Linked DNA regions of Homo sapiens: regions 1, 2, 3, 5, 6 and 7 are each linked to region 4. The links are contacts of gene promoters, found by promoter capture Hi-C in blood cells and fetal thymus (Javierre and others, 2016). All regions are on one chromosome and are shown on one strand. Each heading gives the region's core, a stretch centred on a gene start or on the middle of the fragment in contact. The rest is flanking DNA. Distances are from core to core; before and after follow the strand shown.

Region 1 (4,006 bases), core at 464-2,963, 8.7 Mb after region 4:
TTCACCAGCGAGGTACCAAAACTTACTTCCTTTCTTGAATCCCAGGCAAGGTAAGGCCATCCTCTCTCCTGGCCACTCCCTTAGATCACTCTGGACCAGCCAGGGAGGTTTTTGAGTCTGGACTGAGGCACCTGCTGAACCTCCAGTGGCCCCAACACCCTAATTACTCCCTTTGAGCTGTCTTGGGTTTTGCAAACAGGGGAACTCCCATCTGCCAAGCTCTCCATCTTAAAGAGGTTTTGTAGTTTCAGGCCGGCTGCTCCTCCTCCTCCTCCCACCCTGCCCACCTCCCAGAAAAGAGAATGGGTGCTCAGTAACAGCTATTAAGATTGCTTACTCCAGTTCAGGTCCCACTATAGACAGTGGGTGGGTCAGCAGAAAGACCCCGACCCTCAGGAGGTTCAGAGTTCAAGAAAGCTTGTGACTACCCTCTACCTCCCAAAGGGCCAAAAACCACTTCCTAAAAACCTTCCCCTACCTGGCAGGCACTCACTTCCGGGTTAGTATGAAACTCAAACTACCTGTGCAAAAGGAAAGGGGCCAGGCCAGCTGAAGGCTCCCGATGAAAGCTGCCTCCCACTCTCCCCTTCAAAGGGTGTCCTAATTGTGACCTTTCCTTAGAAGAAGAGAAAGTGATTCACACTATATTGCTTCTTGGCCTTTTGGCTAAGATCAAGTGCACAATAGGAAAAAGCCTTAAGTCTTATGTAATAGACTAACCTAACAGTTCTTAGGTGGGGGTGCACAATATATCCAGTTACACAGTTAAAAACAATCATAATACCATTATCACCCCTGACAAAATAAGATAATTTCTTAACTTAGTCAATTTCCTCAGTTGTCATCAAAATGTCTTTGGACATTTGGTCAAGAATCAAGATCCAAACAAGATCCACAACAATGCACGACTGATGTCTCAACTTTCTTCATCTGTAACAGTTCTTCCCTTTAAAAAATGCCATTTATTTATTGGAAATAGTGTGTCTTGTAGAATTTCTCACATTTAGAAACTGAATAACTGCCTACCTCATGGCTAATTAGTCTGTTCCTGTAGCCCCATTTCCCTATAAACTGGCAGTTGGATCTATGGTTCTGTTAGATTTAGGTTCAGTTTTTATTTGGTGGAGGAAATTTTCAGGCAGTGCTGTGTGCTTTCAGACACTGTAAGGCACATAATGTCTGGCTGCTCCATTATACACCCCCAAGCCATCGACTTAGGCTCCTGAAGCCAGAAGAGTTTCTCCAGCCTCCAGAGAGCTTGGATTCCTAATCACAACGCAAATACAAAGCTACACATATATAAAGCTCTACTTTGGTTTCTTTCTTTTGTGGGGAGGGAGTTTTAGAAAAAAATTTTTGATACTAGAAAAATTTTAAGACATTTAGACCTAGTCTAATACCCTGATTTTACAGACGAAGAAACAGGCACAGAGAAAGCAAAGCGTTTGCCGGTGTCCACATTGCTGGTCATGAGCAGGATCAGAAGTAGCTCCTAGGGCCGGGCGCGGTGGCTCACGCCTGTAATCCCAACCCAAAACTTTGGGAGGCCAAGGCAGGTGGATCACCTGAGGTCGGGAGTTTGAGACCAGCCTGACCAACATGGAGAAACCCCGTTCTACTAAAAATACAAAATTAGCCGGGCATGGTGGCACATGCCTGTAATCCCAGCTACTCTCAAGGCTGAGGCAGGAGAATCGCTTGAACCCGGGAGGTGGAGGTTGCAGTGGGCCGAGATCACACCACTGCACTCCAATCTGGGCGACAGAGCCAGACTGTCTCCAAAAAAACAAACAAACAAACAAACAAACAAACAAACAAACTTAGCCCAGCCTATCTTAAATGCACTCAGAACACTTATATTAGCCTACGGATGGCCATAGCATCTAACATAAAGCCTATTTTAAGCGTTTAATGTCTCATGTAATTAATTTATTGAATACTGTACTGAAAGTGAAAAACCATGGTTGTATGGGTACCTGAAGTACAGTTTCCAATAAATGTGTATCACTTTCCCAACAACATAAAGTCAAAAAATCATAAATTGAACCATCATAAGTTGGGGACTATCTGTACTCTCAAGTCTCACGGCACTACATGTGCACCAGCCACAGCAAACTTTCAGTCCAGTTAGGCTGGCTTTTCCTCATATCCCTGAGAGCACACGTGCAACTCCCCCCAAAGAAAATCTTTACAAAAGGCAAACTAAAAAGTTAAAACTTATTTTTTTAAAATTCATCTCACCACATTCCAAAGCAAAAAATAGCTAATTCTTAAGAGTCAGCAACCTTTAAATTATCCATCCATGCCCTTCATGTCTGTGGATAAGCAAAAGTCAAGTTTTAAGGAGACAGATCCCATACATTTCACGGAGTACTTATATAACACAAGAAAAGGAAAGATCTGCATTCACCAACCCCATCATATTACAGGTAGAGAAAACCAGAGACCCAGGGAAAAGTCCCACCAAGACCCAGAGTAAGTAACAATGTCTACCTGCCAGGCACTGGGCTAAATACACTTATCATAACAATGAATGCTGGTAATACCCCCATGAGGCAGGTGAATCATAAATACCTATTACACAAATTAAGAAGGTGAGGCATAGAATGGTTAAATAACTTGCCCAAGGAAGCACAGCTAACAAGTGGTACAGTGGCATTTGAACCCACTCAGTTTGACCCCAGAATATTCGCTATGTATCATCTCTTAACTTAGACGTCTTGGATCTTATACTTAAAAGGGGTATGGCTAGGATAAGACAAAAATTTTAAACATTTAAAAATACTCTGGGGAGGGAGGGAGATCTAAAAAACCAAAATGCAAATCCCAAGACTTAAAACTACAAATGTAAGACTTGGACGCTTAAACCAGAATACAGAACCCCACAAGAAAGTAGAGATATCACGAAACATATTTTATTACTAGTTACTGCATGTGTCCCTTAAAGAACTAAAACACCAACATTTGAGCCAAAAGTAAGGCTAAAAATAGGCATTTACAGCAAGCTTTGGAAAGCTTTTAGTTTGCTTATGAGGTACTCATTTCTGTAGACTCCCAAAAACATGTGCATCACAGAACACAAAAATTCCCAAGACCACACAGCCACTCCACTAGTGTCACGTTTAAATTTGTCGAAGCTGTAAATAAAACCAGGGCTGGAAAAGCACTTCAGAGATCCACGTAGGCTCCAGAGAAAGGGTCATCATCTAGCCTTACCAGACTGACAACCCAATCATAGAATTCTCTCTCAAAATGCACACAAACCCTAACAACAGGCTTAGAGAGAGAAGCTACTGGATTAACTTGAGTTAGGCTGTCAAAACCTATTCCAAAGGTTCTAAACCAACAAGTAGACACTCTCTTGCCTTAAGATTCCAAAAAACAATAACAGAGCAAATCTACCCTTACTCAGAATTTTGCTTTGGGCACTTAAAGCAAGTCAGCTTCTCCACTCAGAGGAAAAGGTGAGATGCCAGCCAAGCTGTCTTCTTCCCACGATCAATAACCCCAGTGACGCACACTATCAAGGGCTCCTGGACTTACACAAAATGCCAGCTCAGGCACCCAATACCACCTGATGTCACGGTTGATTTAAAACCCACAAGGTAGGTTCACCATTAGCCAAGCCAGGATGAGTAGCCCCATTTAAAAGGAGTGCTCTCTCCCGGGGATGATTATACCCTTTTGAGTTTAAAGAGGGGAGAAGGACCAAAGAGTGTTTTAAAGTTGTTTTCCTTCACTCTGTGGGTGGATAGGAGGGACTGAAAGAAAACGGAGGTTTCAGCACTGTCTTTTGCATAAAAGGGCTCTGGAAGGGAAAGGGGGGAAGGGGAGGAGGGGGGAAGGGGAGGAAGGGGGAAGGGGAGGAGGGGGGAAGGGGAGCAGGGGGGAAGGGGAGCAGGGGGGAAGGGGAGCAGGGGGGAAGGGGAGCAGGGGGGAAGGGGAGCAGGGGGGAAGGAAGAGAACACAGTATGAAGGACTGTTAGTAAACCCCAAATGTCCCCTC
Region 2 (4,250 bases), core at 735-3,234, 6.3 Mb after region 4:
ATGCGCTATTTTGCATAGAGTAGTGTAACCCCAGAAGAACTCTTTGAAGTCACATTTGACCAGAAACCTGAATGAATTGAGGAAATGAAGCCGGGCGCGGTGGCTCACGCCTATAATCCCAGCACTTTGGGAGGCCGAGGCGGGCGGATCACGAGGTCAGGAGATTCAGACCATCCTGGCTAACACGGTGAAACCCCGTCTCTACTAAAAATACAAAAAAATTAGCTGGGCGTGATGGCGTGTGCCTCTAGTCCCAGCTGCTGGGGAGGCTGAGGCAGGAGAATGGCGTGAACCTGGGAGGTGGAGCTTGCAGTGAGCCGAGATTGGGCCACTGCACTCCAGCCTGGGTGACAGAGCAAGACTTCGTCTCAAAAAAAAAAAAAAAAAAAAAAAAAAAAAAAAGGAAAGAAGGAAATGAGACGTGTCAATATCTGTGCAAAGAGTTCCAGGCAAATGCATTGGCCCCAAGGCCGGGATGTACTTGGCAATTTTGTAGGGCCTGTGATATAGGCCAGGGGAAGGATGTCAGATTTTATTCTAAAAGTCATAGAAAGCCTTGGAGGATTTTGAATAGAGGAGTGATAAGACCGGTCTTATATTTTAAGAAGGTGTGGTAAATAGACTAAGGGAGGACAAAAAATCAAAGAAGTCCAGGTGAGAGATAATGGTGGCATGGCATAGGACCATAGCAGTGGGAACGGTGGTCAGTCATATTTGGAACTTTATTTACTTATTTTTAAATAGATCTAATGCAAAAGGCTGGTATGGTAGTTTCGGTGGGGTATGTGAGAAAGGAGAAAAAGGTGATTCCTTCGATTGAACATTTGCAATTGAGTAAAGTGCAACTGGGGAAAGATGTCTGTCACCACTGGATATGAGGGTCTGAAGTGCAGAGGAAACGGTGTTCCAGGGCCTGCATGTAATCATCCAGCTGATATCTGACTGAGAAGTGGTTGGAGAACTGAGTCCTGGGGCAATCCATTAATCAAATGTGCCAAATGCTGCTGACAGATGGAGTAAAATGAGGACTGGGAACGACCATTGGAAGTCACTGGTGCAGGATACATTGGGGTCAGCGGTGAGGAGAAAAGCTGGATTGGGTTATGCTCAACGTAGATGGATTTCTTCAGGAAATAAATTGATACGTGCGAGGGATTTAAAATGGGGGAGTCCGGAAGTGGTGGTTCACGCCTACAATCCCAGCACTTTGGGTGGCCGAGGCGGGCGGATCACTTCATATCAAGAGCTCGAGATGAGCCTCGCCAACACGGTGAAACCCTGTCTCTACCAAAAATACAAAAAAAAGAAAAAAAAATAGGTGAAACCCCAACTATTCGGGAGGCTGAGGCACGAGAATCGCTTGAATCCCGGAGACTGAAGTTGCAGCGAGCCGAAATCGCGCCACTGCAGTCCAGCCTGGGCGAAAGAGAAAGACTCCGTCTCAAAGAAAAAAACAACAAAAAAACCCTGCATGTCTATATTTTCGAATTTGTATGTAAGACGTCTTAATTGTATGCGTTAAATTAAAAAAGGACAAAAGGAATGGAACTACCAGCAGCGACTAAGTCAGTAAAAGAGTGGTAATGGGGAAGGGGGTGGAATATACGCAGGCGCAATAGCAAGCGTTTCTTTTGGAGGTTATTTTCGTGTCATAAATTTCTAAATTCACGTTAAGTCTTACAAGAGCATGTTAAACATTAAAACATAAGATTGTTTCTGGTCAATAAGGGGTCTATAAAAAATAAAGCAATAAGGTGTCTTGTTCAATTTTATGCCTTAATTCAAAAAGAAACGAAGAAACGGAACCCTCAGCTACGACTTTTAAAAGTCAGTAACGGGTGGATGGGAGGAGTCAAACATACGTAGGCGCAACAGCGAGGGATCGGTCTGAGGCGGAGCTAGAATTTCGTTAAAGGACAGCTCTTACAGCCAATCAAGGACAGAGTCGGTGGCTTCTTCCCGGAGGAGACCGGAAGTTGGTTTCGGCTGCAGAGGGGAAGGCGGCTACCAGTGTAAAGCCAGAGCTGAGGTAAGTGGGCGGCAACGGTTTGGGGCCGCCGCCTGTGTGCGTTTTTTTCTTCCGGACCCCGCAGCTTCCTCTGTGCTGGGCTGGGAACTGGGGAGGCATGGCTGAGTTCGGCCTCCAAAGGCGGTCTTTCGTCTTTCTCTCCCGAGTCTCTCCGAGAGTGCGGTCTCTCCGAGAGCGCGGAGGCCTCGGGGTGGACAGCCTGGAGGAGGGGGCTCTAAGCGTGGCAGTCTCGGGGCTTCCTCCGTGTTGGGACGCCGAGCCGGAGTGGAGGTTGGGAGACCTGGCGTCTAGTCCCCGCGCCGCTGTTTTTCTAAGCTGTGTGGCCTTGGGCGAGTCATTTGCCCTCTCCGGCTCTTTGTAACATGAGAGTAGCCCTCCCTGCCCTTCCTTCTTCTGGGAGCAGTTATGAAACAGCTGAGGTATGGGGGCAGGCGAGGGCGGTAGATCCCAAGCCTAATCGTCAGGTCCATCTGGAGAGGTTTTAAAAGCGACATTCTAGGGCCCATTCACAGTAGACAGAATGAATCAAATCTCTGGGGCTGGGACCCTGGAATGTCTGTCGTCTTCTGGTGAAGCTCCTTCTCCCCCAGTAGAACAAACACTAGATGTTGGATCTTGAGTTAAGAACCAGCTCTGATGCTTGGCTCTGCTTTTATTAAAAATAAGACCTCCATCACCTTTGAAAAGTTCCATCTAGAGAGACAGTAGAGAAAGAAATATAATTTTTGTGATATGCCAGTCCTTATTGTACAGTTAGATGCTTCTCGGCTTAGGGATATAAGAGAGCTTGCCCTTTGGAGCTAAAGGGACCTGGGATAAGAATTCCTGTTGTGCCATTTATTAACCTTTTGATCTGGGGCAACACTTCCCCTCATTGAGACTTCGGATCCTCACTTCTAAAATGAAATTGATAATAGAACTTAATTCGTGGGACCGTGTGGTGGCTCACGCCTGTAATCCCAGCACTTTGGGAGGCCGAGGTGGGCGGATCACTTGAGGTCAGGAGTTCCAGACCAGCCTGGCCAACATGGTGAAAACCTGTCTTTACCGAGAAATACAAAAATTAGCTGGGCGTGGTGGTGCGCACCTGTAGTCCCCAGCTACTCAGGAGGCTCAGGCAGGAGAATCCCTTGAACCCGGGAGGCAGAGGTTGCAGTGAGCCCTGATGGTACCACTGCACTCCAGCCTGGGAGACAGATTGAGCCCTTGTCTCAAAAAACAAAACTAACAACAAAAACCCCAAAAACCTTAATTCATAGAATTGTTAATGAAGATTATGTTACAGAGGCCATAAAAAATGGTACCTGTCATGTAGTTGGCCTTAGGAAAATGGCAGCCGCAATACAGGAATGCACATCGTGTAGGAAAGTACAGAGCAGCACTCCTCACCTAAAAAGGTTTGAGTGGGATGAAACGTGAGCTGTCAAAAATTGTATTTTCTGCCGGGCACGGTGGCTCACGCCTGTAATCCCAGAACTTTGGGAGGTCGAGGCAGGTGGAACACGAGGTCAGGAGATCGAGACCATCCTGGCTAACACGATGAAATCTCGTCTCTACTGAAAATAGAAAACATTAGCCGGGCGTCGTGGCGGGCGCCTGTAGTCCTAGCTACTCAGGCGGCTGAGGCAGGAGAATGGCGTGAACCCGGGAGTCCGAGCTTGCAGTGAGCCGAGATCGTGCCACTGCACTCCAACCTGGGTGACAGAGCGAGACACTGTCTCAGGGAAAAAAAAAATGTATTTTGAAGTACCAGATCACTGTTAATTCTTTGATTTTGGTAATTGTGCTTTGGGTAGAAGAAAACATTCTTGTCACGAGAAAACACACTGAAGTATTCAGGGGTAAAGGAATGAAAAACCAATAAAGCAAATGAAGGAAAATGTTAACATTTGGAGAATCTGAGTGAAGAATATGAAGTGTTTTTTGTGTATTCATGCACTTTTTCTGTAATCTGAATTTATGTTAAAAGTTTTAAAATGTCTGGGTGTGGTGGCTCACGCCTGTAATCCCAGCACTTTGGGAGGCCAAGGCAGGAGGATTGCTTGAGCTCAGGAGTTTGAAACAAGCCTGAGTAACATGGCAAAACTCTGTCTCTACAAAATATACAAAAATTAGCCGGGCTTGGTGACATGCCTGTAGTCCCAGCTGCTTGGGAGGTTGAGGTGGGAGGATCGCTTGAGCCTAGGAGGGCGAGGCTGCATCATCCTATGCACCACTGTGG
Region 3 (4,374 bases), core at 878-3,377, 9.3 Mb after region 4:
CTATTGCAAATGAAATACGAGGTCTTTCTCCAAGCAGAGGCAGAATGTCAAGCACTATTTTAGAATGGGCTACAGCTATTCTAAAGGAGAGTTTGCACTAGGGTAGGACACTCCCCCTTGACCTGGAGCTGTGTCCAGTATGGAGCCTCCACAGCTAGGGATGCTACAAGGAACTCTGGACTCAAGACAGAAAAAAAGAAGGGACCGTTGTATTCCTCATTGATTAACTGATAGTATCACAGAATGTTAGAACTGGACCAATAATCATGGTTTACAGACCAAGAAAGTAAGGCTCAGAAAAGGAGATGAAAGGTGATCAAGGACACACACAGTAAGTTAGTGGTAGAGCTGAGGTCAGAACCCTGGAACTCCTGACTCTGATGCTGGTACTGAATAGGAACAGAGGAAAGAGATTTCATGAACGGAAAATCCATACAGATACAGAATTTCAGGGAGAGAGGTCTAAGCTAGCTGTCAGGGTTTGAACCAGGGGTTTAGGAAAGAGATGGAAACCTTAGTTTCTAAACAGTAAGCTCTACCAGAAAGATCAATGAGACCCTCTGGGATGCTTTGCAGCAATTAACAGAGTTACAGGCGGAGCTCAAATTGGTCAGCTCTGTAGCAAAGAGCCCTCTGTGCTCCAGATGCCAGACTGCCTAGACAGCAGCCTGATACTGGGAAGAATAAGGAAAACCATCAATCTCAGAAAAGCCAGCCTCTTTCGTCGAGGCCAGCCAACAGTCAGTCAAGTCTGACCCTGATACACAAATTATCCACTTCTCATGGGACCAGAGAAATCCCGTAAGAAAGCCTGAAATGTTCCACTATATGAAACAGTCTAAGCAATACACTCACTAGCACCTCCTGGGAGGGTGGGAGTGATGTGACAGAGCTTCTGCTATGAGGGAGCTGCTAGTCTAAATGCGTGCACGCACACATACACACAAACATACGTGGGTAAGTTCAAAGGAGGCAGAAACCATTCCGATCCCAGTTTTGGCTGCAATAAACACTACAACTAACCAGACTAGACAAGTTCAGAAGAGATAGGGAAGGCTTCTGGTGTTCCATCCTCAGGACACTGGGCACCAATAGCCTCTGGGACATTTTGGGGGTCCCCCCACCAGAGCCCCACCTCTGGACTCCCATAAGGTCAAAGGCAGCAGGTCCCTCAAGGACCAGGAGCTTACCCCCTTCTCCACCCCCAGGGGCTTGAAGCTTTAAAGGGAGCATGATCTTTACATTCTGCAAGGAATCCACAGGATCTGAGAAAGGAAAAGGCTAGAGTTGGGGCGGGGGTGTTGAATAAATGGGGAGAGGAGGAAGGCCCGGGTGTCTCGTTGGGCAGATGAGAAATCAGGAAAAGGGCTGACCTGAGCAAAGAACACTGGGATCAGCAGGTAGGGGTTGTGGGGGGGGGGGGGTGGGAGGAGGGAAGCAGAGAGGACCTGGACACCAAATAGAAGAACCAGAATCTTCATTCCTATTGGCACAAGGCAGGAGTCATCCTGGGATACAGGGATGCAGATAGGATCCTTCAAAAGAGATCCGCTGGAAGACGTCAAGGAATACCAGACGGGGACAGAAAGGAAGGTGGTAACATGTGGTGAGAAATAGCGTCCTGAGTGCTAGTTCGGACTCAGTCTCTGACTGGCGTGGGACCCTGGACAAGTCCCGACAGGACTTAATTTTCCCATCCGGAAAATGGGAAGAGCTGAAGAGTCTCGGAGCTGACTCTGAGGAGGCAGACAGCAGAAGGTGGAGGAAGGAACCACAGGCTAAAAGTGAATTCGGGAAGGGGGTGTTCCCGGCCTGTAGCAACGGGGGGACTCACCTGTCCCGCCGCCGGCGCCACCGCCGCCCCCGATCCCCCAGGGGTGCCGTCGGGCTGCCGCTCGCGGTACAGCGCCCAAAGCCCCACGTTGGGCAGGAGGACCAGGGCCGCCAGCACCAGCGCCACCGCCTGCAGGAGCCGCTTCTCCTTCCGCCTCATCGGGGCCGGTCAGCCCCGCCGCGCCCCGCCGGCCCCGCCGCGCCGCCCCCAGCTCCGCGCGTCCGCCCGTCCGCCCGGCGGCGGCAGCAGCTCAGCCAGCAGAAGCGGCTGCGGCGCCGGCCCCGCTCCAACTCCGCGGCACTTCCGCCGCTCGCCGGCCGGGGAGCTGGGCGCCGCCACCACGCCGCCGCCACGAGGGGGTCGTCGCCGCCGCCACCGCCCCCGGGCCCCGCCGAGCCGCCCGCCCCGCGCCGCCTGCCCCCGCGTCGACCGCCGAGTCTCTGCGCTGCAGGCTCGGCCCTCTCACGGAGCGTCTCGGCCCGCCCGGGCGCTGCAGGATGCCGGGCCGGAGCGCTTCCCCCCTCTCGAGCCGCGATGGTCCGTCCCACTCCTCGGCGGCTCCCCCGCCCTCTGGAGCTTTGCGAAAGTCCCGGAGTTGGCGAGTTGGGCGCTAACTGGTGCGGGCTGGGCACCGCTGGGTGGGGTGCATGTCCGCTCGCCCGGGTACCCTGCCGCCCCGCCCGGCAACCTCCGCCCGGGACTGCAGCCGAACCTTTGCTGCCTCCCTGGGGATATGCAAATAGTGCTGGGGCCCCGCCGGGCGTTCTGAGCCTGGAGCCCCCGGGGCTGTCACTTCCAGCCCACCTAGGCTCGGCCCCCAGGACCTGCGGACCTACTTTGACCCCGGCGACTCGGTGTTCCCGGCCATGAAACGGGGCCACAGCCGTGCTGCACGCTCACTGTTCCGCGGGCGGGCCCTGGTTTTCTTCCTCTAGGGGGGCCCTGGCGTTAGGTGTGAACGCCCTCTGCAAACTGTAGGGAGCTGTGCCCGGCCGCCGCCCGTCTGTAGATCCTGCAAACCGGCGGGTGGGTAAGTGACGGTAGCCTCTCTGCAGCACCTTTCCTCACGCAAGTCCAACCCCCTTGGAGTTAGAATGCCCTGCATTCTCACGCGTGCTTTTGGATCCTAAGCGCACTGAGCCCTTCCCGGAAAGCTCTCAGCAAACCGTTGGCGAGCGCCACTATGTGCCAAACACTGTGCCAGGCTCTGGGATGAAATGAAAACAGACCTGAGCCCTGACGTCTGGGAGCTGAAACATGAAACACGTAATTTCACTAGACCAGGCAATGTGTCTGTAACTGTGGCGAGGGCTTTGACAGAGGAGTCGGGCTTCTGGGCGATGCGGAGGGCCGTGGAGCCGGACTCCGACGGTGATGCCAGCCAGCGGCTCCTCCTCGGGGCGCTCGACGCTGGTCACTTAGCTGCCTCCTCCCTGATGCGGTGGAACGGAGCACCCCCTTGGCTACCTTACTCTCTGCCACCCCCACATTCGTCCTCTTGATTCTCTGCTTCTCTAGCTCAGCCGCTGACCTTCGTGCCTAGCTGCCACTAGTCCTTGACCAGCGTTCTGGCAACTCTTGCCTCCAAGTTCTTCCAGCTCCAGGCTGAGCGATGGGGATTCAGTTTTCTGACATCACAGCTCAGTTCTTGATTTCTGCAGCAAAACCTTCAAGGCTTCCATCACCTCGGCTCTAGAGTCCATCATGCTCCTCTCCTATGACCTGCTAGGGCTGATCAAACGTTCTGTCTCCTGCCGTGCCCTGCCCTGCCCTGCCCTGAGCTTCGCTTAGCCTGTTGCAGGCTTTGTGTTTTCCTTCTTGTGCTGTTGACCACGCAGCTCCTTCTACCCATAAAACCCCCTTCTCTAGGTCGGTGGAAATCTTGTTCATCCTTCCGTGTCTAGTTAAACTGCCACCTCCTCCACGAAGCCTTCTAAAACTCCTCCTCAGGGAACTGTTTTCTTTCTTTAGATTTCCATCACAATAATGCTTACCTTTTATTGAGTGCTTACTCTATGTCAGGCAGCCCTTGAGATGCATTACCTCTTTAAATGCTCACAGTTACCCTGTGAGGTACATGCTTTTCTTATACCCATTGGCGAATGAGAGTCAGATTTAAAAATGCATGTAATCCCAGCACTTTGGGAGGCCAAGGCGGGCAGATCACGAGGTCAAGAGATCGAGACCATCCTGGCCAACATGGCGAAACCCTGTCTCTACTAAAAATACAAAAATTAGCTGGGCGTGGTGGCGGGCACCTGTAATCCCAGCTACTTGGGAGGCTGAGTCAGGAGAATCGCTTGAACCCAGGAAGCAGAGGTTGCAGTGAGCCGAGATCGTGCCACTGCACTCCAGCCTGGCAACAGAGCGAGACTCTATCTCAAAAAAATAAATAAATAAATAAATTAATTAATTAATTAAATAAATAAAAGAATGTGGCAGCCAGAATGATCTTGTTTTATCCAAGGTTAGATTGTATCGCCCCTCTGCTCAAATCCCTGTAGTGGCTTCCCACCTCTCATTAGGTTCCTAAGAAAGTA
Region 4 (4,182 bases), core at 470-2,969:
AGCACAGTCCCAGCATACAGCATTTTTTTTTTTTCTGTAAGACAGAGTCTTGCTCTGTCGCCCAGGCTGGAGTGCAGTGGCGCGATCTCGGCTCATCGCAAGCTCCGCCTCCCGGGTTCACGCCATTCTCCTGCCTCAGCCTGTAGTCAGCTGGGACTACAGGCGCCCGCCACCGCGCCTGGCTAATTTTTTTTGTATTTTTAGTACAGACGGGGTTTCACGGTGGTCTCGATCTCCTGACCTCGTGATCCACCTGCCTCGGCCTCCCAAAGTGCTGGGATTACAGGCGTGAGCCGCCGCGCCCGGCCGCATACAGCATCTTAAATGATGAGTGCCTACCAAACACAGCTAAGGCTTCCTGGTTACTGTGCTGTGCATTGCGGTGTTAAGAGCACACGATGGGGGCTGGGTTCATATTCCAGTCCGGTCACTTTGGTAATGTAGCACTGAGCAAATTTAAGTCTCAGTCTTTTTATCAATAAAATAATAATAGGATTACCCCTTAGAGTTGGTGGGAAATTAACATAACTAATAATCGATGTAAAGCCTTAGTACGGTGCTTGAGGTATAAGTGGTCAATATCAGCCATAACTTCATTGTTTATGTTTTCAATAAGTGCTGCTGCTCTAATTTTACACCCATAAACTGCCTTTACTAATCTTCCTTCTTTTATGCCCAAATGGAATACACAAAAGAAATGCACAAGTTCAGACTACAAGTAATACTCCAGTGTTCTTATCAGTGAGGCCCTCTCGGACTTGAAAATCAAGTAGCTACCAACGTCTCGGGTCCATTCCCTTCGCCCTGCTGTAGTTTCTCCATTACCGCTGTTTATTGACAGTATTCCCCGCCTGAATGTAAGCCCCACGGGGCGGAGACTGTTTCACTGCGGTATCCTTAGCATCCTGATTAGTGCTTGGCATGTAACAGATGCTTAGAGCATATTTGAGAAAAATCAATCAACTGAATGAGCCCCAGCCCGACCCTAAAATCGCCTCCTGCTTGCCTCCCAAGAAGGGAGCTGAAAGAGGCAAAGGGCGTTAGGGCGTCTCCCGTCCCCCAGCTCTTTCCCCCTTACGCACCAGAAGGGTCATTGAATCGTTTCAAGGGCGCCTTAGGAAAGGACATGTTGACGGCCAGCTCCAGAAACTGAAGGTGACTGGCACTCCTCGACAACTGAATGCGGATTATCACTCCCTACCGGTTTCAAATTCAAATCTCCCCACATTCCCCACCCACCCCGGCGTTAGCCAATTGGAAAGCCAAACCCCTGGGCACACCAATCCCGCACAGGAACACGAAGAAAGAATGCTGGGTTCTGATTGCGTCCAATTAGCTGGCCTGCGAGTTTAGGCTGCCATCCAATAGGAGACCGTTACTGTTCCCCGCCCCACCCACCCAGTCATTCCCGGAGTTACTCAAGTGTAACCTAGCATTTGCGCAAGCGCACTTCCCTCCGGAGACGTTAGAAAGTGCATTTTGGCGTCACTTAGGGGACGGTGTAGTGAGTTCCGGCTTCACTGGTTCCAATTCTGTCCCATTGTTCGTTGCATGTGAACTTTTCTGGATTTCAGTTCTTTCATCCGGGGCCTGCCGGTGCCGTAAACGGCCATTCAAAGGGAAAAACGAACACGCACACCAAAGCGCTAGCTTGCGTTCCTGCGCATGCGCAGTGACCCGAGCGGAGAGGCCGAGGCGTAGCCTAAGCGTGGGATTCCGCGCGTGCGCTCGGCTCCGCCTGGTGCGGCCGCGGCCGGGAGGGACTGGATTATGTCGGCCCCGTTTGAGGAGCGGAGTGGGGTGGTACCGTGCGGGACCCCGTGGGGCCAGTGGTACCAGACCTTGGAGGAGGTGTTCATTGAAGTTCAGGTGCCGCCAGGCACGCGCGCCCAGGATATCCAGTGCGGCCTCCAGAGCCGGCATGTGGCGCTGTCGGTGGGCGGCCGCGAGATCCTCAAGGTAGCGGCAGCTCGGGGCTTGTGTTCAGTTTCCTCTTCCCAGACGCCCCCAGCCCCGTTTCCCTGAACGACTGTTGGGTGTCCCGACGGCTCCTGTGGCTGGCAGAAAGAGAAAGAGGATAACACTGACCAGGTTTGGGTCTGGTCAGAGCCCCCGCCTCTTCAGGGCAGGTGCTGAGTTGTGGAAATTTGAGGAGCCTATTTTCGTGTTTAGTTTTCAAACTAAGACTGCTGCTTCTGCTTCTCTGACGGGCTTCAGCTGGGAACAGATTAACTAGGTTGCTAAAGGAACAAATATTTCTTCCGTGCACTGAAGACAGGCAGGAAGACAACAGATAACGTACCTGCAGTGGAGAGGTTAAGCTCCTGTACGGAAGCGTAATTCATAAATAGATAAATATAGGAAAGGACAACAAAGAAAATAGGGATAGAATAACGGGCAGAGAATTTAGAGATGATGTCAGGTGATTAGTTTTCTCATCTAAAAGCTTGAAAATCCTGCATGTTTGTGGAGTGGTCAAGCAGGTGGTGAAGAGGTGTGTGCATAAAATAAGTAGTACTCCTTTTATTTCTTTTCACCAATGCTCTTTGGATCTGGACCCGCTTTTTCTTTGTTAAGTGTATAATTAAACTAACAGGTTGAAATTAGATTTAGTTCTCAGGTTAGATGCCCAAGATGTTTGATGGCAGTGTAATATGGTGAAGGGAGACTACTTGTTTCCTAGTTTTGTAAACTTGGGCGAGAGATTGTTCAGTGTCTCTATATCTTCCTTATCCACAAGATAAGGTAGTTATAGTACCCTTCTCATGGGATTGTTTTGAGCTTAACATGGTATTCACGTGTATGAAGAGCTTGGAGTATTCACTGGTATGTAATAAGTTCATACTATATGTTAGCTATTAGCTATTATATATATTACAGTATATGGAGGTGCTTTGAGTGCCTCAAGATTCGTGTGAAAGACATTATGTCAGCTTGGATCTCAGTTACTTTTCTGAATTGTACAATTCATAGTTTCCTCAACAATGGTTTTAGATTACGATTATAAATTAGTAAATCCAGTAACTTTCGGAATTTAGCAGTAGCTGCTGAATTTGGGATTTCTGATGTACGTATAGACCAGTGGGATTTTTTTCTCACTAATTTTGACATATTTTAAAATGTGGGCTTTTCCTAGTGACATTTAATTTCACTTTCTATAACTTAAATTTGGCAACAAATTAAAATGGATTTGAGTTTAGGCATTCTCTCTTTAAAAAAAAATATATATTTATTGAGACAGGGTCCCTGTCTCCCATGCTGGGGTGCAGGGGTGAGATTGTAGCTCACAGCAGCCTCAAACCCATGGGGTCAAGCAATCCACGTTGGCCTCCAAAGTCCTGGGATTACAGGCCTGAGCTACTGGGCCTGGTGCAGTCTCTTTTAAATTTATATTTTGTTTATTTTTTTAAAAAACATGAGTTTGTGAACAGTTAGTCACAACTAATCTATCAAATCTGGAATACGTAAAGTTTTTTTAATGCCGATTGCCCAACAAAAAGATTAAAACGTTTTTAAAAGTTTACTTTAAAAACAACATTTTGCCGGGTGCGGTAGCTCATGCCTGTAATCCTGGCACTTTGGAAGGCCTAGGCGGGCGGATCACAAGGTCAGGAGTTCGAGACCAGCCTGGCTAACACGGGGAAACCCCATCTCTACTAAAAATACAAAAATTAGCCGGGCGTGGTGGCGGGCGCCTGTAGTCCTAGCTACTTGGGAGGTTGAGGCAGGAGAATCGCTTGAACCCTGGAGGTGGAGGTTGCAGTGAGCCAGATCGTGCCACTGCAGCCTGGGCGACAGAGCGAAACTCTGTCTCAAAAAAAAAAAAAAAAAAAAAAAAAAAGACAACATTTTTTAGTTTTAGCAGGAGATCCCTTCTTGTGGTTAATTTAAATTGGTAGAATTAAAGCATTTCAGATATTAATTTCACATTTGGCCAGTGGTCAGTATTACTGTATCTTCTAAAAATTAAGGAGCCCTGATCTTTCTTTAGAGAGCTCTGTGTTCTTTGCCATAGTAAATATCCCTTGCAGTGTAAACTAGTTTCCATTTTACCTGCTGGGAGAAAATTTAGGGTTGTGCACCTATAAATGTCATGGTGAAGTGGTGGTATAAGATGTGGATTAGGTAGGAAAGTAGGTAAATCTTAATCATGAAAACTTTATAAAAATTAAATTCTGTATT
Region 5 (4,113 bases), core at 980-3,479, 7.9 Mb before region 4:
AATCTTTGTCGGCCTTTAGTTCACAACCTGTAAATGAAGAAAAAAGCAACTCTAACAAGGAGAAAAATAACACTGAAACTTAAGTGTGGGTAACCAAAAAGGTCAGGTCTAACTTTTGAACTAGTTTTTCACTATTTTAGCTACCAGAGGGCAAAGCAGAATGATCAATTCCTAGATTTCTTGAACAGAAACCTCTACAGACACCCATAAAAGACTATAATTCCATTCTCTCATCATACCATATTTCATCTCTAACTACGCTGATAGGTACTGTTATTCTGCATAAACAAGCTCAATGGTTTAGTAAATCTCAACCTGAAGCAATTATCTGAAACCAAATGTAATGTCCAATGTTAAGTTTCCCACTATTTAAAACAGCTGATTTACCTACCTAAATTCCCAAATGGCAATTTCGAAATGAGAACGGTTACAAACATGAATAGCTTACTATTACAAAAGAAAAATGACAAAAGTAAAAGAACCGAAGTTTGCTACAGGGATCAACACTCCACTCTTTAAAGCAACAGAAAGTGACATACGCCTCAAACTATATTCAGAAATTATGTTTAAGACAAGGAGGGTTCTTTCCGATAGTTATCAAAAAGTACTGATATAAATTTACCAGAATTCTCAGCTATCCAAAATAACTAGGAATTAAAGCCTTAATGTTTTGAATACATATGTCTACTCTCACTCCATGAATGGGCAAAATTCTTCAAAACACTGTCAGAATAAAAATTTTAAATGATTCCATTTAACTATCATCTAACCGTTACCAATACATATACATGCTTAAATGTGAACAGACGTTTAATTAACAAATCTCAGCACGGATAATGAACAAGATAAAATTCACGGTAGGATTTGCATTTACTTCAAAGTCTGAATAGTACAAAGATTAGGCTTCTGCAATTAATCCTACTGAGATCAAAAACCCAAGTGGGACTCTCCTTTTTGGGGCAGGACTACCGCAAGTCGAGGGGGGTGGTGCTCCCAAAATTCTGCGAATAGTCTTAGGTCTTGATCTGACTCAAACCGAACACTCTACGTGTTTCTTGTATTTAGAAAAGCAGTTTGGTCAATGCCGCACAAATGGCGGCATGCGAGGACGTCCCCCTAAAACGAAGCCTCATTAATATTCACGAAGCAGCAGCTACGGAGTCAAGCGTCTTGGTTTAGATTTAGTCTCTTATTGCCTTTACTAAGTACAACCTTCGTTAAGTGAGTTTATCTCTGGGCACCAGTATCCTCATCTGCAAAGTGGGGCTAGCTCCACCTACCGCAGTGAGACAGAAAAGGGGCTCAAAAAAATGAGAGCTGCCATCACAGTACATGCTGTAAGCACTGAACAAAGACCTCCAGAACCCTAGTGCTACCAGCCTCTTAACATTTCCCACTTCAACAGAGCCACAGCATCCCTGGCTCACGAGTGGCAACACGCCGGTGAGTCCCGGATGTAGCGCCCACACCCCCCTCCCTCCCCCAACCACGTGGCAACCACGTGCTCCCAGCGGTTGCGGCCTCCTCACGCCGCGCCGCGCCTCCCCACCCCCAGTAACTGGCCGAAGCACGCGAGGTAAGTCTACGTCCGGCAGCTCCAGGCTCTGAGGCCAGAATAACGCCAGGCTGTGCATCTACCCGCTCCAACAAGCAGGCCCATGCTTCCCGGTGAACCCAGCCTCCAGGACCACCAACCCGGGGCCTGGCATCAGAAGCCTATGAACCACCGCCGTTAGAAAATAAACCACGCCTGGAGCTCCGCCACGTATCCCCGGCAAAGGCCGAACTTCCAGGCGGCCGGTTCCACTTTACCTCAGGCCCCGGGCCTCGGACCGCTCACGCCCCAGACGCTTCAGGCCGCTCGTCTCCTCCCCCTTCACGCCACCGGCTCCCCCCGCGGCTCCAATCCCTCCAGGTCCAGGGCTCAGGCAGCTCTTCCCACCCGCTCAGGCCTCCCGTCGGTCTGGCGGTCTCCACCAGACCCGGTTGCAGCCGGATTCCCGCCCCTCACCCCCACCCTCACCGCCACCAGGCCCCGCTCGGCCTCGCTCCAGCTCCCCCCAGCAGTTACCGAAAAGATAGTTCTGGGGCCTCAGGGGGCTCATGTCCATGTCCATCGAATCTTCCATCGGGTGGCGGCACGCACTTAGGTAGGAGAGAAGGCGGACGGAGATAAAAGAACGCTGCTCCAGAGAACAACCGCGCAGGACGGAATCACACCAGGGAAAGGACGCAGGCTCCCCGCGCTTATATATAGACCCTGAAGATCTCGCGAGCGCTTCCCAAGTCCCGCCTCCGCGCGCGTGCTCCGAAGCCCTCCCACCCCCGTACCGTAGCCGTCCTGCGCAAGCGCTTTTCAACCCCACTCCTTTCTACCTCGCCCCCACCTCCTTCCAGGTACTCCGCGGGCTCCCACCGAGCACGCGCACTCGTACACTGGCCCCACCCCTCCGCTGCTGTCGCCTGTGCGCACGCGTGCTTTCCAGTCGTAACGCGCACTCCCCACCTCCAACCCTTCCACGTCCTCTCCCGCTCAAGCGCGCCGGCCTCCCGCCAAGAGTCTGCGCAGCCCACCCTGCAAAATGGCGTCGGCAGCCCTTAGCTGTGTAAGATATGGCGGGTTAGCCGGCTGCGAATGAGCCAGAGAGCACCTCGATTCACCTTTCCCCATCCCCTAGTGCCCTGCAAGCCTCCAAACAGGCGTAATCACTTCAGGAATTTTTTACTTGCCTGAAGGCTTCGGATCGCAGTTAATCGTTACCCCAAAGTTCAGGTGCCAGAGAGAGTGAATTGCGGCTTATTCTTTGTTAGGAAGGAAAGATGTAGTTACCGGCCAGACTTACGGAACTTTGTTTTTCAGCTCTGTCCTTCCTGAGAAAACATCTCCAAAGTCCTTATCTTTACGTAACTTGGGGGCCAAAAGGGGACTGAATCAGTCTCCAAATTAGCAAGGACATCGCCCTAAGAGAGCTCGGAGGGTGGGCCGACTCTGACTTCTTGCCGCTCTTAATCTTTAACATTCCTCCTGAAAGAAAGCGGGTGACTTGTAAGAACTACAGAAGCCTTAATTCGAATATTTGGGAGCGAGCATGGGAATTAACGTTTTAAGCTACACCTTGACAAACTCCGAGGCACCCCAGCACCCCGCGGGCATTGGGGCGTTCTGAAGACCCGTAATCTTTTTTTTTTAAGCCTCAACATATCAAACAAATTTAAGAAGTGAGGAATACAAATGATAGCCTCAGAAAGGAAGACACCCCCACCCCAAGGCATTATTTCTTACAGGAAAATTATAGAGACGATTTCAGTGTCTATCAAGAGAGGAATGAACAGTTAAATTATAACATGTCCATATTATGGGTTAGTTGTGGACACATACTAACGCATAATATGGACATGTTATAATTTAACTGTTCCTTTCTGAGAGCTCCTGTGTCACATAAAGCTTTGAGTCACTTAAATTTGTTATGCCTTTTTTTGTGTGTGTGTGGAGACAGAGTCTCGCTGTGTTGTCCAGGCTGGAGTGCAGTGGCGTGATCTCCGCTGGATGCAACCTCCGCCTCCCGGGCTCCCGAGTAGCGAGGACTACAGGTGCATGCCACCACGCCCGACTAATTTTTGTATTTTAGGAGGGATGGGGTTTCGCTGTGTTCTCCAGGCTGGGCTCAAACTCCTGACCTCGGGTGATCCGCCTGTCTCTGCCTTCCAAAGTGCTGGGATTTCAGGCGTGAGCCACCGCACCCAGCCAGCATTTTTTTTTTTTTTAAACGGGGTCTCGCTCTCTTGCCCAGGCTGCAGTGCAGTGGCAAGATCTCTGACTCACGAGTTCTGCCTCTTGAGTTCCAGCAATTCTCGTGCCTCAGCCTCCCAAGTAGCTGGGATTACAGGTGCCTGCCACCGCGTCCAGCTAATTGTTGTATATTTAGTAGAAACAGGGTTTCGCCATGTTGGCCTCCCAAAGTGCTGGGATTACAGGCGTGAGTCACCACACCCGGCCACTGTTTTATTTTTTATTTTAATTTTTTTTTTTTTTGAAACCGAAGTCCCGCTCTGTCATACAGGCTGGAGTGCAGTGTTATGATCTTGGCTCACTGTGACCTTTGCCTCCTGGGT
Region 6 (3,818 bases), core at 963-3,462, 6.9 Mb before region 4:
AGACATTTTACCGAACTTTCTCCCCTAAGCCCAATGACATAGGTACTTGTGTCCCCATTCCATGATGGGGAAATGGGGGCTAAGAAAGGTGCGGTGACTTGGTTAAGGTCATACGTGTAGAGATGAATGCTAGAGAAAGGATTCAAAATCAGGTCTGGCTGTTGCTGAGTTTCCTGTATTTTCCAAGTTCTTACACTTTCCCTAACTTCCCTGCCTTCATCTCTGTCCTCTCCTCTGCTTACTCTGTTCTTTTCTGTTCCTCAAACACACAAAGCTCATTCCCACATCAGGACTTTCTGTCTCTCTTTGTTTGGCTGCTTCCTTTCTTATCATTTGGGACTCATCACAAAGGCCACCTTCTTGTAAGGTGACCTGACCATTCCTTTTAAAGTAGTACCCTCTGGGATATTGCTCTGTTAATTTACTTTACAGTACTTCTCACTCACCTACTTTGTTTATTTCCGTAGTCTGTGACCCCCTACCCACCCCTCACTGACCCTGCAACAGACACTAGAATGTAGGGCTAGTGAGAGCAGAGGCCTCTTCTTTCTTGTTCTTCTCTATATCCAAAGAGTCTGGAGAAATGGCTGGGACATTGAGGACATTCAGAAATATTTGTTGGATGGATAGGTGGGTGGGTAGATGGATGGATAAACAGGTGGGTGAGTAGACGGATGAGTGAGTGGGTAGATGGACAGGTGGATGGGTAGATGGATGAGTAGATGGATGGATGGACGGATGGGTAGGTAAATGAATAAAATGGTAGATGGATGGACAGGTGGGTGGGTAGATGGATGAGTAGATGGTTAAATGGACAAGTGGGTAGGTAGATGGATGAAAGAGTAGATGGATGGTTGGATGGGTGAGTAGGTAGATGGATTAGTGAGTAGATAGATGAATGGATGGATGGGTAGATGGATGGATGGATGAAGATGAATGAGTTGGTGAATGTACGTATGTATGAATGTATGGTGTCTACTATATGGCAGGTTCCAGTGAGGATGTAGAGATGAATAAAATGATGTCTCTTTGATCCAAATGTTTGCTTTGAAATGAGGGAGACCTTCTCAATAGTCAAGTAGTTGCATCAAAGTATATTAGGTGTTCTGAGGGAATATCAGATCTCAAAAGCACATTTGGGATAGAAATGAGGAAGGGATCCATTTTTGCTGCTGGAGGGTGATCAGAAAATGCTCTATATGGGAGATAACACTGTATCTGATCCACGAAGGATAAGTGGTTATTATTCAGGTAATCAATGAATTTAAAAGCTTCCCTGCAGCCTAGGAAAAGGGAAAGAAGCTGAACACAGTCTTAGAGTCTAAAAACTGCAAGCTATTTGGTGTGATGGGACAAGAGGTGTGAAAGATCTGGTCTTGATTGCTACTGCATATTCAGTGTTTAGCATTCAATTACCCTACTATTGGCACTTCATAATAGTACTCAAGAATAGGTCCTCAATAATTATTTGTTGAAGAAAGGAACAAAAGGAGAGCACAGGGAAAAGTAAAGCTGGCAAGATTGACCTGTGCTGGGTACTGCTGGGCTAAGGAATGTAGATGCTAGTCAGAGGAAAATGGACCATCACAGAAGGGTTGATGAGATGCATGTTTCTGATGGTCACCCTGCTAAGCACAGGAACTGTGTTGGGGAAAGTCCAGGAAGTGGCAGGAATAGACAGAGTGGACTATGGCTATGGTCCGAGTGTGGGATGTTGAGGACCTGAGCTAATCAGGATAGTGTACGTGAAAAGGTAAAGAGGGATTCTAGAGACTTGAGGAAGGTAGAACTAGAGTGCTATCCATGGTTCCATATGGATGAAGAAGGGAAGAGGGAGGGAATATAAAGAGAAGAATTTTCCATGCCCCTGCTGGAATGACTAGATGCTAGCCACTGGAATACAAAATGTATGGGGTGGGGTTCACCATGAAGCTAATGAAGGTTATGTGCGAGAATCCCTCCCTTTCACATCCACTATCAAGGTCCTAAACCTACTCTTGTATTCATTGTTTTCTTTTTATTTATTTTTTCCTAAAGAGCCCCTTCCTGGCCAATTATAGAATCCTCAGGCTCCACCAAGCCTGGATCTTCCCCTGGAAATACAAGGAGAACAGTTTGGGGGAAAGGATTCCATTTGGATTGTGAATTCCATTTGGGGCATGGTAGGTTAGAGGTGGATGAAAAACCTTGAGGTGGAGATGTTCTGCAAGGAGCACAGTGTGGGACAGGGCTTGAATCCTGGCTTCATGCTGTGTGGACATGGGCAAGTTGTTTGAGCTCTGTGCTCAGTAAAATGGGATGTTAATGATAGTACACCCTGATAGGGTTGTAAAGATTAGATGAGACAACATAGGTCAAATGCTTAGAACAGTGCCTAGCACATAGTGAGTGTTGAAAACAAGTTGCGTGTTGGCTTTTGGTATTCTGTGGGGCAGTGTATATCTGAGAGTCACTGGAGTTGAGGGTGGCCTTGGGGGGAGTTGGATTGTGTAGCAAGAGTGTATTAGGGCTTGATATGAGGAAGACCAAGGACAGAGCTCTGATATTTATCAGGGTGAGCAGAGGAAGAGGAACCAGCAAAGGAGGCTGACGAGGACTAGCCAAAGGGGTCCTGGAAGCCAGGGGAGGGGAGAATACCAAGCAGACACTCAGTCATGGGTGTCACCTGCTGCTAAAAGTCTAGCAAGAAGGTGACCACAAGAGGCTGCTGGCATGGGTTTTGGGGACATCTCAGTGACCTTGTCAGAGGGCTCTCGGTGGAGAGTTGGGTACTGAGGAATGAAAGTCCCATGCAGACGACAGGTGTAGATGGTCTTCTGCAGAACCTTGGCTTTGGGAAAAGACAGGAGGCAAGAGGCAGAGGAGAACAGAGGCAGAGAGAAGGTGTTAGGGTGGTTGATTTGTTTTGCTTTGGGAGGACATGATTCACTGTTTAAAGATGAGATTCACAGGCTTTGGGGGCTGTGATGAAGAGTTGGTGTGTAAAGTTTAACAATTTGAGGAAGAAATAAAATAATTGATTAAAAAAAAAGTGAATGCCTTGAAAGAATTAGGAAGGGGAGGAACAAGTGACACAATAAGTGGCCAACCCTGAACTGCTCTCTGAGTCTCGAAGGAAGGGGGCAAGGGTGGGAAGGTTATAAATAAGCTTCTAGGTAGGAGGACAGGAAATGGGGCAGTTATGCCTGATAGCCTCAGGTTTGTTGCTGTGAAGTAGGAGGATAGATCATCTGCAGAAACATAAATACACAGCTTCTCCCACACCGTGGGCACTTAGGACAAATTATGATTACGAAACTTAAAATCTCAAGGGAATATTAGGGTTAGAGGAACCCGAGTTGATGGTAAAGTTATTAATATCCCTACAAATTGTTTTACTTCGATTAATATAAAGCAGTGAACAAAGCATACCGAGTAAAAACAACCTCAGAGGCAATTTGCACATCTTTGTTAGTGCTCTACCGTTAATTTTAATTTGCAAACCTTTGTTTGCTTGTAGGTGCTTGAAGCATTTCAGGATCTTCCTACCCTGAAGTTTCAACTTACAAATAAATGCTAGCTAATAAATAAAGTTATGAATCATTTCAAACTTACAATGAAGTTGAAAGAATCTTACGATTAACACCAATATACACACAACCTTGGTTCAACCATTAATGTTTTACTAAGCTTGTTTATTTAAATAAACCTTTTAACTACAAAAAGGAAAATTACAAAAGTACAGAGTTCCCATATACTTCCTAGCCTGTTTCCCTTATTATTAAAATCTTATATTAGTATGATACATTTGTAATAACTAATTAACTAATATTGGTGTG
Region 7 (4,081 bases), core at 1,028-3,527, 8.0 Mb before region 4:
CACTGGCCTCCCTCTTTGACACCAGCCGTTCCCCACCCCCACCCCCATCACCACACAGGTCACATCTGCTTTGGCAAACAGCCAGTCTTAAGTTACTGACTCCAGTTATATTGATTCAAGGAGTCACTGGGGACCCCAGCCTGGCCAACAGGAGGAAAGAACCCATCAGTCCGTCCACCCTTCCATCCCCAAGCCCCAATGGATGCCCCCAGCTCAGTGCCTATCAGGAGGGTAACAACCCTCTCCTGGGCGTGGAAGGAAGATAGCAGGCCCACCACCGCCAAACACTGCGAGTGGCTGTTGAGTCGCGCAGTGCTCAAGGCACACAACACTCCTTGAGCCAGAAAACCGGGAGAACCACCAATTTCCTGTGCTCAAGGCTAGCTCTGGGGATCTCCACAATCCAGAAGGCTAAGGTCTAAGAATCTTCTCTAATCCCGGAAAGCCACCTGCCTTCCACCGAGGGGGAAGGGTCAGACAACCCTCTTTTGACCTGTGTCCAGTTCCTCCTGGCCTGGCCCCTTGCAGCACTAGGTGGGTGGGGGCTTGGGGAGCTGACGCTTCCTATTCCCTTTGCCCGCCGCCCCCCGACCCCCACCATGCAGAGGCAGCCCTGGTCTGGTTCTAATCGGGGCTGAAGTCGGCTCCCTTTTTCGCTCTTCTCTCTCCCTCCCCCCAACCCTTTTTCCTTCATTTCTACGGCTTTGGAAGCCAGAGCGTTCCAACTGTCTGCGTGCCAAGACCTTCCCGAGTCTGAAAGCTGCTGAAGTAACAGATCAGATTTTAGCAAGTGCTTTCCAGGCCGAGCGCCAAGCCCTCTTCTGATTCACGGAGAGCGAGCGAACCGGGAGCAGGCGGGGAACCAACGAGGGCTGCACCACCTTAGGCGAGGGAGTGCGGAGCGCGGCCCATCCGGGAGCGGCCTCGCGGGCAGCGGCCACTCGGCCTAGGCGCCCTCGAGCTTCCCCTCGTCCCGGGCATGTGTGTGTGTCTGTGTGTGTGTCTCAGTGCTGCAAGCGCCTTCAAAACCACAGAGTAATTTACAACTGAAGCTTTCTCCCTGGACTCGAAATCCACTCGGCTGAAAGTCTTTTTGTTTGGAAGCGGCGATGTTAAGGGAAGGTTGGCAGAGAAAATCCCTAGGTCCTACCCCTCGCTGGCTGCGGGCAGGGGTCTTAGAGCTGGGTATATTGTTGCGGCTGAGCCCGCCGGCTCTGCGGGATCTCCTCCCAGCCGAGGCCGACAGTGGCCGCGACAGCCAGCGCCTCCTCGGGCCCCGCGGCAGAGCCCCTTGCCCTTGGCCGGTTCCCCGCCGGCGCAGGGCGCACGCGGAGCCGCCCTTCCGCGCCCTGGGAACAGGTGCACTGGGCTCAGCGCCCAGGAGGGGTGGGGCACAGGGAGGGGGCGCGGCCGGGGAAGGGGGGTCGGCGTGTACCGCGAGGCAGGGGCGGGAGGAGGTCAAAGTCAGGAGCCCACGTACCTGTACCTGGAAGCACAGCAGCAGGAAGTGTAAACACCTGCGGGAAACAGATGGAGAAGCGGTCAGTGGGACCTGAGGAAGGGGGCGCACGGACAGACAGACACGCAGTCGAAGAGTCAGGTGAACCGACGGGCGGGCAGACAGAGGTACAGGGCACAGGCATACGGACAGACAGCCAGGCAAGGTGGGCAGCCCCGCGCGCGGGCGCTTACAGGCAAGTGCAGGCGGAGGGCGCTGAATACATCGCTGGGCGGGAGGGAGGCGGCGGCTCCTAGCCCAGCCTGCACATGTCCGCTCCGCGCGGCCGGGACCGGGCGCCTCCGCCGCCGCCGCCGCCGCCGCCGCCGCTGCTGCTGCTCCCTCCTCGCCGGCTGCTGCTGCTGCAGACTCTGCTGCTCCGGGGCGCTCCGCGGCGCGCCCTGCGGCATCAGCGCCCCGCGCGGCTCCTCCCGAGCGCTGCGCCCTCCGGGCTGGCGCAGGGGCTGCGGGGCGGCAGCCGCTGTGCAGGAGGCGCCTGGCCGGTGCGGGGAAGCTCGCTCACTGCTGGCCGGCCGGCCGTCCGGGCGTCCGTGGGAGGCTGGCTGCCCGGCTCAGTCCGGGGACAGCATGCGCGGCGGGTCTGGAAGCCGAGTTGCGCTCTCCGGCCCGGGCGCGGAGCTGCGTGGGGCCAGGGGTCAGCGCTCCGGGGTCGGGGCGCGCGGCTGCAGCGCGAAAGCGTCACGGCCGCTCCGTCTGGGCGCCCGCCGGCTCATGTCTCCTCCTCCGCGTCTCTCCGGCCGTGCGCATCGCCGCCTCCCACCACTGGCGGCGGCCGGGGCGTTTTCTACGCGCGGGCGGCGAGGGGGCGGGGGGCCGGGGGCGGGCCCGGGCCCGAGCCGGCACAATGAGGATGCGGGGCCTGGGGGCTCCCCCCTCGGGGCGCGGCCGGACGGGCGCTCAGCTCGCCTGGGTGCGCCCAGCCCACATCAAAGGCGGCCCTGCCTGCTCGCCTGCCTGCCGCGGCCTCTCGCTGCCTCCTCCTCCTTCTCCTGGCGGCTCGGGGTTGGAGGGGAGGCGCTCAGACTCTCGGAGACGGGACCGGCAGCTCCAAAGGGGCAGGACCCGCGAGACTGAAGCTGGTGAGCGCTGGAAGCCGTCGGAGCTCTGCGCCCGAGCGCAGTGACCGCTCCTCCGCGCAAACGTTGCCCAAATTGGGCAGGCGATGCTCCCCAAGAACGCAGTTAGGTACGGAACGTCCTCACCTGCCCACATTCGCTACTCGCACTCACTCACCAGCGCTCTAGTGGAGAGCCGAGAGGGGCGGGTCAAACCCAGCCCCGGGGCGGCTCCACTGAATGGGGGTCGCTTTTACCCGCCCTGCGATCGTGGAGTTTCCCAGCCACCCTCTTGACTGGCTACCCACTTAAGTGAGCCCCCGTCCTCTTCTTACGTCCCTGCCGCTGCGAAGGGGGCTCCCGGGCATCTCTCCTTCCCACCCCTCGCCCCCTCCGGGGCTCTGGGGTCGGTTCACGGGATCCCAGCTGGACTCTCCCGTAGGCGAGCCAGCTTTGGAAACACACGGCTACCACCAAGCGGCCCCGAGACGTCACTGCAACCCCAGCACGGACGGCTGCACGCCGGGGAGCAGCCAGCAGGACTCTGGTCAGCGACCACGCTGAGGCCCTCTTCCGGCCTCCTCCCAAAACCGGACTAAGACTTGCCTCCGTTTGCATACTAGGCAGCTTCGTTCCTTTAACCAGGGCCCCATTCAGGACACTGGTTCTTACCGCCTCTGCCCCTTCCAGAGGCATAACTCCTGTCCTTCCCACCAACCCCAAAACGTAGGTGTTCTTGTCACGTACCTGCCTCACTGTCTAGAGCTGGTGTCAGCCAAGCTCTGCTTGAGCCTGATGCTAAGGAAAATAGGTCACAGTGAGAAAGACGCTGGAGGACAGGCTCAAGCAAAACTCAGGAATCTGGACTATTTGGTTAAAGCCTCCTTGCGTTGGCAATGGTTGATGGTCCACTGGAGCATAAACTGAGGTAGGACTGTCGAACAGTGCTATTTGCTGAAGCCATGACTATAAAACATTAGTAATTGTTCCAAATATCAGGCCTCCTTGCAAGCTATTTTAAGTTCCCTTTCAAAGCTGAGGCTATTTTAAACAGATAGCCTCTGTTTCAACATCGGACACAAGTGCAGAAAACCTTTTCAAAACCAGGTGCTGAGGGGGAAAATTCCTGCATGAAGCTTTTAAGCTGAATTTACTTAGACATTCTGATTGCCAGAGCTGGACTTGCAGAGTTACTCGTAACTTCCCAAGTTCTGGAGAAAATGAATCGATCCCAAGATAGGATGCAATGACCAACCATAAATAGAAATGGACAGAAATGCTCCCACCGATGACCCGAGTCATTGCCGCCGTCTTTGATCTTGCTTTATAGGAAGATTGACAAACCCAGTCGAGGAGTTTTTGGCTTACCATCTGCTAGTTTGAAGTATCTCCTGGCTAAGAATCATGCTTCCAATTTTCTATATTGTTACTATTTTTTATTACTTGTGAATGGAATGGGTATATAATTATTTATACCCTATCTAAAATGCTTGCAGTATTTTTCAAT

Evidence for each region. The method cuts DNA at HindIII sites, captures the fragments that hold promoters and counts their contacts. A CHiCAGO score of 5 or more calls a contact.
Region 1: a fragment that was not itself captured here is called in contact with the fragment with the promoter of NUDCD2 in region 4 in 2 of 17 cell types (total CD4 T cells and naive CD4 T cells); the score reaches 6.1 in total CD4 T cells.
Region 2: a contact is called between the fragment with the promoter of MED7 here and the fragment with the promoter of NUDCD2 in region 4, in 3 of 17 cell types (naive CD8 T cells, naive CD4 T cells and erythroblasts). The highest score is 12.4, in naive CD8 T cells.
Region 3: the fragment with the promoter of GALNT10 here is called in contact with the fragment with the promoter of NUDCD2 in region 4 in 1 of 17 cell types (total CD4 T cells); the score reaches 8.9 in total CD4 T cells.
Region 5: a contact is called between the fragment with the promoter of NPM1 here and the fragment with the promoter of NUDCD2 in region 4, in 2 of 17 cell types (activated CD4 T cells and naive CD4 T cells). The highest score is 6.6, in activated CD4 T cells.
Region 6: a contact is called between a fragment that was not itself captured here and the fragment with the promoter of NUDCD2 in region 4, in 2 of 17 cell types (total CD4 T cells and activated CD4 T cells). The highest score is 8.4, in total CD4 T cells.
Region 7: the fragment with the promoter of FGF18 here is called in contact with the fragment with the promoter of NUDCD2 in region 4 in 1 of 17 cell types (naive CD8 T cells); the score reaches 5.6 in naive CD8 T cells.

What each region holds. Positions count from the first base shown.
Region 1 is chr5:154,757,733-154,761,738 of GRCh38, reverse strand. The region is part of intron 1 of LARP1 (La ribonucleoprotein 1, translational regulator); the gene reads right to left. Among named protein-coding and RNA genes, the nearest start is that of LARP1, 4.4 kb to the right of the region's middle. RefSeq lists an enhancer at 537-646 and a silencer at 3,483-3,672. The HindIII fragment of the contact is 2,588 bases long and covers 420-3,007 here.
Region 2 is chr5:157,140,599-157,144,848 of GRCh38, reverse strand. MED7 (mediator complex subunit 7) reads left to right here and starts at 1,984. Exons shown (of 2, transcript NM_004270.5): 1 at 1,984-2,029. RefSeq lists enhancers at 1,357-1,456, 2,267-2,316. The HindIII fragment of the contact is 9,177 bases long and covers 1-4,250 here.
Region 3 is chr5:154,188,486-154,192,859 of GRCh38, reverse strand. GALNT10 (polypeptide N-acetylgalactosaminyltransferase 10) reads right to left here and starts at 2,127. Exons shown (of 12, transcript NM_198321.4): 1 at 1,835-2,127. The coding sequence starts at 1,993. It overlaps LOC124901118 (a long non-coding RNA gene), which reads left to right and starts at 2,781. Exons shown (of 2, transcript XR_007059010.1): 1 at 2,781-2,864. RefSeq lists silencers at 1,832-1,891, 1,962-2,041, 2,132-2,241, 2,252-2,351, 2,442-2,531 and an enhancer at 2,752-3,717. The HindIII fragment of the contact is 10,101 bases long and covers 1,221-4,374 here.
Region 4 is chr5:163,457,639-163,461,820 of GRCh38, reverse strand. It overlaps NUDCD2 (NudC domain containing 2), which reads left to right and starts at 1,719. Exons shown (of 4, transcript NM_145266.6): 1 at 1,719-1,959. The coding sequence starts at 1,771. It overlaps HMMR (hyaluronan mediated motility receptor), which reads right to left and starts at 1,189. Exons shown (of 18, transcript NM_001142556.2): 1 at 1,083-1,189. The coding sequence starts at 1,128. It also overlaps a transcript of CCNG1 not described here. RefSeq lists enhancers at 943-1,002, 1,753-2,002 and a silencer at 1,333-1,422. The HindIII fragment of the contact is 3,644 bases long and covers 1-2,448 here.
Region 5 is chr5:171,385,965-171,390,077 of GRCh38, reverse strand. NPM1 (nucleophosmin 1) reads right to left here and starts at 2,229. Exons shown (of 11, transcript NM_002520.7): 1 at 2,072-2,229; 2 at 1-27. The coding sequence starts at 2,129. It overlaps MIR3912 (microRNA 3912), which reads left to right and starts at 3,318; the gene lies at 3,318-3,422. RefSeq lists silencers at 1,509-1,568, 1,889-1,948. The HindIII fragment of the contact is 7,200 bases long and covers 1-3,447 here.
Region 6 is chr5:170,326,723-170,330,540 of GRCh38, reverse strand. No RefSeq gene overlaps it. Among named protein-coding and RNA genes, the nearest start is that of LINC01366, 2.8 kb to the left of the region's middle. RefSeq lists an enhancer at 2,612-2,711. The HindIII fragment of the contact is 1,877 bases long and covers 1,274-3,150 here.
Region 7 is chr5:171,417,843-171,421,923 of GRCh38, reverse strand. FGF18 (fibroblast growth factor 18) reads right to left here and starts at 2,277. Exons shown (of 5, transcript NM_003862.3): 1 at 1,693-2,277; 2 at 1,481-1,517. The coding sequence starts at 1,724. RefSeq lists silencers at 1,771-1,850, 1,911-1,960, 2,101-2,210, 2,331-2,440. The HindIII fragment of the contact is 2,658 bases long and covers 1,055-3,712 here.